Linked DNA regions of Homo sapiens: region 2 is linked to region 1. Evidence: promoter capture Hi-C in human tissues and cell types (Jung and others, 2019). All regions are on one chromosome and are shown on one strand. The core of a region is centred on a gene start or on the middle of the fragment in contact, and the rest is flanking DNA. Distances in the headings are between cores, read along the strand shown. Region 1 holds the start of KCNB2 (potassium voltage-gated channel subfamily B member 2). Region 2 overlaps KCNB2 (potassium voltage-gated channel subfamily B member 2).

Region 1 (3,590 bases), core at 744-3,243:
CCAGAGTTGGGGATAAGAGTTTGGGAATCTGGGTGTCCTCTTCCTAGTGTTCATAATTGAGAAACCCCAAGAAGAGCAAAGGGCAGGGCAGTTTCTTGCTGGAGGGTGACAACATCAGAAGGGCCAACCTCCATGCTAAATATCCCGCCCAACATCTGACACCTCAAAACAACAACAACAACCAAAACAAAACAAAAACCCACCACAAAACCAAAAACCCTCAGTACAAAGTAAGGCCACCTCCCCATAGCGAGGTGGGAAGTCAAGGTGCAGAGAATTAGAGAGGATAGCGCATTCCAGGGCATATCAGGGCTAAAACTAAGGCAAGGATGACATGGAGTATATTTAAAACAGTGTACTTGGTTCCAACAATGATAGACTGGATTAAGAAAATGTGGCACATATACACCATGGAATACTATGCAGCCATAAAAAATGATGAGTTCATGTCCTTTGTAGGGATATGGATGAAACTGGAAATCATCATTCTCAGCAAACTATCGCAAGGACAGAAAACCAAACACCGCATGTTCTCACTCCTAGGTGGGAATTGAACAATGAGAACACATGGACACAGGAAGGGGAATATCACACACCGGGGACTGTTGTGGGGTGGGGGGAGGGGGGAGGGATAGCATTAGGAGATATACCTAATGCTAAATGACGAGTTAATGGGTGCAGCACACCAACATGGCACATGTATACATATGTAACAAACCCACATGTACCCTAAAACTTAAAAGTATAATAATAATAAAATTTAAAAAAACACTCAATAAACAGAAGATACAAGGAAAAAATAAATAAATAAATAAATAAATAAATATAAATAAAACAGTGTACTTGGAACTTCCTCAACAGCCATCCTTCTTGGTCTATAGAAACTCAGGAGTCCCAGCTTTAAATAGACTTGTCACGGCCTGCGTTCGTTTCTAAAAGGTGTTTTAAGCTACTTTGTTTTCCTGAAAGCCCCTGTAACCGTGCCAGCTGTCTCTATTTCGTGCCTGTGAAGGAGCACTGGGGTCAGAAATATGTAAGGCTCAGTGTTATTATTCAAGTTCATTGTCTTTACCGAGCCCTGGAAGTGGGTACAGGTCTAAGTGTTCACCCTGCGGCCTCGCCAAGGGGTAACTTGGCATAGTTTTCCAGCTGGTAAGTTGATAGGCAAAGGAAAGAAAGAAGGGTATGAAGAGCGCCCCCGTGAGAAGCAAGGGTTAAGGTTGCCACGGACCCGGCTTTACCCTCAAACCCAGGAAAGCCGGGTCACTTGGGGCTAGGGACGGCCCCCGAGCGAGCGGGGCTGCAGGTGCCGCGAGGAAAGTCAGATCTTATCTGCGCTCCTAGTTATCTCCGCAGCTCTTTCTCCAGGAAAATAATCCTGGCACCACCACTCAGGAGCCATCTGTCTTCGCCCCAGTTCCCCGGGGTCGAGCAGTCAGCCCAGGGTCAGGGTCCTGCTGTGGGCGGGCGGGAGGACAGCCCTGCAGTTGGAAGCAGAAGGGCCGAGGGAATCCCGCGAAGCCGCCGGAGCGCGTCGCGGCGGGGCCTCCCGGGGCTTTCCCGGCCCCGGGTGCGCGGCAGCCGCGGGGGCTGCGTCCCTCTAGTCCAGTGCAGCCGGGTGGGAGCTGCAGAGCGAAGCAGGTGGGTGTGGAGCCAGGCCCGGGGCAGCAGGAGTGGCTGGCGCGCGGAAGCTGAGGGAGGCACCCCGCCGAGGTGTGGGCGGTGCCTGCCCGCGCCCCAGCCGCGCCCTGGGCACCAGAGCGCTGTCCCCGGCCGAGCGCACAGCTCCGGCGCCGCGAGGCAGAGCCCCGGCGTCCCCGGCGGTGCGCTGCCGGCTCGCGCAGCCCAGCCATCCCGCCCCGCCGCCCACCTTGACAGCCGGGAGCGCTGAGGAGGAAGAGGGGGAGGGGGAGGAGGAAGAGAAGGCGGCGGCCGCTCCAGCCCGCGGGTGCGCGGAGCGCGGGAGGAGGCGGAGCGGGAGGCTGGGGTGGCCGCAGCCCTGTGTGCGCGCCGGGCCGGCTAGCTGCGGGGCGGGGGAGCGGCGCCCCAGAGCGCCCCGCCTAGCCTCCCGCGCGCAGCCTCTACCCTGCTCCGCCACAGACACACACCCACCAAGCACCCACCGCCCTCCGCCCTCCGCCCTCCGCCCCCGCGGCCGCCGCCGCCGCTGCGCCTCGGGCAGCCCCAGCGAGCGGCAACTCCCGGGCTGGCGCGGCTCGCTTTCTGGCTCCTTCCGCGCGGCGAGCTCAGCCCCGCTCGATTTTTCCTCTTCTGTTCCAGCCCTCTCTTGTCTGGGTGGCTGTGGCGGCGGCAGGGGGATGGGGACCCCGTGTGGGGAAGGGGTTGAAGATCGATGAAGATTATTGTTCTTTTAAAGGATGCCTTAGCTTCCTCCCGCCGCCTTTCCTCTGAGCCTTCCTACTAGAGACCGTGAACCAGAGTCAGGGATGTAAAGACAGGGGGAAAGCACGCCGGGAGCTCCAGCCAGCCGGGGAGACCCTCCTCTCTGTGGAGGGGAGGGGGATTTCCAGCGACAGGTCATTGGCGAAGGGGATCGTCGCGGGGAGAGGCTCCCCGGAGGGAGCGGGGAATCCCACAGCCCTTTGTGGTGCCCGAGCCCGTGCCGCCTGCTGAGCGGGGTCTGTGGGAGCTAGGTAAGTGGCGGGGGCATTGCTGCTCCCCGAAGGGGGTCTTCCTTTAAGAATGAATCATCGCGGCAGCCTAGCCAGACTTGAGTTGCTAAAGGAATTGGAAACTGCCATATGGCGCCCAGTGGACTTACACACAAAGCTGACTTAGCCCTGAGAGGGTTTTTAATGTCAGGCTCCTTCCCGGTGGGGAAGGCGCTCAAGTATTAGCCCCTGAAAAGCTTCCCAGCAGCCTGACTGGGAAGGGATGGGGATGTTATTTCTAGGAGCCGAGCTCTTGTTGCCTTCCGTCCATTTGTTGGTAAATGCCACACTCACATGCACACACTTGTGGGACTGGATTTAGGGAGTGTGATGTCTCTGATGTATGAACGATCCTCAGAACACAGAGACATGCGTGCATTTTATTCTTCAAGCGGTGCGCGGTCTCCGTTCTGTAGCACGATTCCTGAGAGGGAGAACGGGTCTCTAAGGAAAGAGCTTCATGGCTGTTTCCAACACACTCTGCTAGGGGACTTGGGAATACGTTTGCCCTGAATAGCACCAAAAGACATCGACCATTTGCCTCATCATTTGCTCCCGATGCTTAATGATCCTCTTCAAAATAGTATGCCGCCATCCATTTTCTCGAGTTGTGAGCATTTATGCGTATTCATTCATAAAAACTGTCAGTGTGCAATATGCACAAACATGCCATTTATGCAACATTTATGACTGCACATGTGTTTCAACAATAAGTAATAATGCATACAAGATTACATTGAAAAAAATTTAGTATGCACATACACTGGGTTAATTCCGCGCAGGTTCAACATTCCTTCTAATCAAGTTGTGTAGTAATGTCAAGATTTTAAGTATCGTATCACATTTTCATTTTTGCATTGATTAATTTTTTTATTTTGTTGGGAATCTGATTTTTTGAAACTGAGGGAAAGGAAGAGT
Region 2 (3,590 bases), core at 758-3,257, 41 kb after region 1:
TGAGCGAGCTTAGCTGGTCACCCAATGCTGTCCACTTTACCCAATTTGTTTCTTTCTCCTCATTGTTATTTGCACTAGCTCTCGTTATATGTTACTGTATTTATAAGGGAGATTATGTGGCATAGTAGAGATTTATAAAGCTCTCAGGACACATCCCTCATTGAAAATATTCTATCTCAGTATTCTAAGAGGTGGTAGAAGCTTTTCAAGATAACAGTAAGCTTGGGAATTATTTTTGCCCACTAACAGCCTGTTTGGTCATTAAAATCCTTTCTCCCTCTGCAGCAGGACAGAGAAAGATGAAGGTGACCCCAAGCCACACCAGCAAGCTGTTCCACATAGTATGTGGGCACTAGAGGCAAGTTGCACTTACTGTATCTATCAGCAACATCCAGTTCTTAACCTCCTTTCCCAGTGTCCCCTGGACCGTAGTTGATGATCACTTTAGAGTTTATAAGCAAAACATTGAAGGACTTGAAGAGACTGAGACTTCTCTGCAATTGCTATGTCAGGCTTAACACAAACATAATGAAGCTAGAATAAAACAGCTATTTATGGATGAATGAGGAACAGAGACATGTAGTAACTGGCACAGAGGCAGGAAATAGAAAAATGGAAGAGGAAGACATTTGCTTTCATCTCTCCAAAGTTTTTCCAGGAGATACTAGGAACTAACATCAGAACTATATCAGACTTTGCACCCATATAGTATTTATTTTTGGCTGTGCATATATCTAGGTTTAAGTTAACTCCTTAACTAATGCATAAAATGAATGTATTTTTCCACTTAAATCATCTCCTTTAATGTCTTTACAAAGTTTTAAGTAAAAGAATTCCTCTGGATATTACTAAGGACAGGTACCTGAACCCAACTGATGTTTGTTGTCAAGTTTCTGTGTCTACGGTGGCTGAAGCCAGTAGCAGCAGCCCTCACTGAGTAGTACCCAGACAAAGTCTGTTGTATGTGCCCATGTGTATGTGTGTGTGTATGTGTGTGTGTGTGTGAGAAAGAGATAGAGAGAGAGAGATGTTACTTATATATACTACCACCTCTTCATTAGAGTATGTTCTATTGTAAAGAACCCACCTGCAGAAAAAGCAATGAACTTCAGCATGTATTTGGCAATTTAGAATAGATGCAACTTTGTCATCCAAATAAGACAGTCAGCCCATTCAGAATACAAACTTTTGTGATAACCTGATAGGGCATGAAAATTCATAGGAAGTGCTCTCATGGTCCAAGAATAGAAGGAAGAAATATTTTTATTAGTCTCCCAAGATTTTGTTTCAGGATGCTAGAGGTCATTGCCACCCTAGATTTCACGCTTTAACTTCTCTCTCATTGGGTCACTCGTGATGCAACCCCAAGTGTTGGATGCCACTTTAAATAGCTACTTCAAGCCTACGCCACAGCAGTGCCAAGGACAGCCAAGTCAACCCGGTGCAGCTCCAGATGGGTTTGCTTGGTTGCAGCATCCGTCACTGCAACCAACCTCAGGATATTTGCACAGGAGAGGAAGAACCCTAGCCTTCAAGTCATCGTTTTAGCTTTAATCAATATACTATCTAGAGCTCAATTTGGAATACTGAAGGGCAGTTGTCCTATCTGCTGTCATCTAAGTTAAGTTCTTAACCAAATGGATTCTTCAAATATAGATTTTTTAAAACACTCACATTTTAGTTTGTATCTTAGAATTGCATTTGTATCTGGCAACATTTTGTATAGGACCATCTAACTTGTACATTCATGTCAGAGCATGTAGTTTTATTCAGGATTTGGTTGAATTAAAAAATAAATCAATGACACTCTGAAGAACAGCAACAGAGTCATGCTGTGATAAATTAGATGTATTTCATTAATACAATGGAAATTTACTTTGGGAAACTAGCAGAGGCCCTACATAATATCCCTGTGGTGAACAACCTGTTCTATTTCAGTGCATTTTTTAGTTTAGAGGCAGAAAAACGTTAGTAGGTAATCTTACTTTCTAAAAGGTGATAATTTGCCATACTACAGATGGAATGAACTATGTATGCAGTGAAAATATGAAATAGTAGGCCAGAATCTAGGATAACATGAATTTGCCATTTCATATTTGCTATGTAAAAAAGCTAACACACTTTATTATATTTCTTAAAAGAATTCTGCAGGTGTGAAAATTATTGTGTTATATAAGTAAAGTAATTGCATTATGAGTAATATTAAAATTCAAAGCAAAAAAAATCGGTTTTAAGCCCTGGTCTTTATTTTTCAGACTCTAACTCATGAGCCATTATAAATATTTTAAATTACATGGAATATTTACCAAGTGCTAGTCACACACACCTTTTAAAAATAGTTTTATATACAGATTAGCCTGAGGAAACTTTAAGGCAGTAAACTGTTTTGATAGGCAGATTTTAACAATATACCAAGTGTATTTATGAACTTAAAGAAATAAATATTATAATTGAAAAAAAACTGTTTTGGATTCTTTGTTTACCCATCTTGGTTGAGTTGTTTGGCAAATGCCAAAGCTTTGATGAGCTTTTCTCCCCCGTTGCACTTTGATGCATACATTTAAAAATAAGTGAGCCTGCAGATCAGATGACAGGCCTTTGCTGTTTATCTGACCTGGCTGTGGTGGGGTGGGTGGCCTCATGGTGTACTTTCTGTGCAGAAGAGGTTCTCTAAGGCACCATATTGCCACCAATGGGAACTTGGAAAATATCCAGATGTCATTTTCATTGCAGCACGGCCCAAATAAGGAAATGTCTTTCTTTCTTCCTTCAGCCATGATTTTATTTCTGCCTGAGGAGGTTCTGTTAATCTCTACATACCTGCTTCTTAGCTCCTTTCCCACTGCCTGCTCCGCTCAGAGCCCCACTGAGCCCCTCGAGAGCCCTCCTCACCTAGGACTGTTTGGGTTATACTTTACTGAACAACTGTTGATTTTCTACTGAATTTCTTTGGCTCCAATCAGACTTCATATTTATTTTTCATCTGGTTGTAAATCTTTTCATGAGTTGATGTCTACTTAAATTTTCACAAAATTGAATATTGTAAGAGTCCGAATTGAAGAAGCTAGCTCACCCTCCAAATGGATTTCATTTGGACTTTAATCTATAAAGAAGGTGTGTGTTTTTCTTTATCCTAAAGCATCGGAGGCTAAGACAAGTAGAATTTTCTCTTGTCAACTCTTTAAAATCAGCATCTACATAATACTTTTCCTCTCCCTTTGAGAGAAGCTGATTCTTCACCCACCCTCTGCCCTCCCTTAATCCGTGAACTCGGGCTGTGCAAGTTAAGCTGGTTTTACTTTCCGCTTTCTCGTAATAGCGTCACTATCCCCAGAGCCTTCTATTTGAGCAGAAATTTAACTCTGGGGAAAGAGACTGTTAATTGATACCTAATACAGTAACAGATGCTTTCACAAGGCTGTATTAGCTTCTGTTTTCAAAGTCCTCTGTGAGGTATGGATACAACTTCCTAGTATCATCAGAGTGTTCTTGCAACCCTTACTCTATCTTCTTATTCTGAGACCAATTCTTTTCTAACAATACTGCTTCCTTCCCAGCCTGGGGGAAAAAAAGGAACTTGTTCCCTGCAG

The links. Contacts are between HindIII fragments. The study calls those that stand out against the background at their distance.
Region 2: a fragment that was not itself captured here is called in contact with the fragment with the promoter of KCNB2 in region 1 in 2 of the 25 tissues and cell types used here (dorsolateral prefrontal cortex and hippocampus).

What each region holds. Positions count from the first base shown.
Region 1 is chr8:72,535,232-72,538,821 of GRCh38, forward strand. It overlaps KCNB2 (potassium voltage-gated channel subfamily B member 2), which reads left to right and starts at 1,994. Exons shown (of 3, transcript NM_004770.3): 1 at 1,994-2,654. RefSeq lists silencers at 1,584-1,713, 1,724-1,773, 1,784-1,843, 2,004-2,053. The HindIII fragment of the contact is 6,044 bases long and covers 1-3,375 here.
Region 2 is chr8:72,576,317-72,579,906 of GRCh38, forward strand. All of the region lies in intron 2 of KCNB2 (potassium voltage-gated channel subfamily B member 2), which reads left to right. Among named protein-coding and RNA genes, the nearest start is that of KCNB2, 41 kb to the left of the region's middle. The HindIII fragment of the contact is 3,592 bases long and covers 212-3,590 here.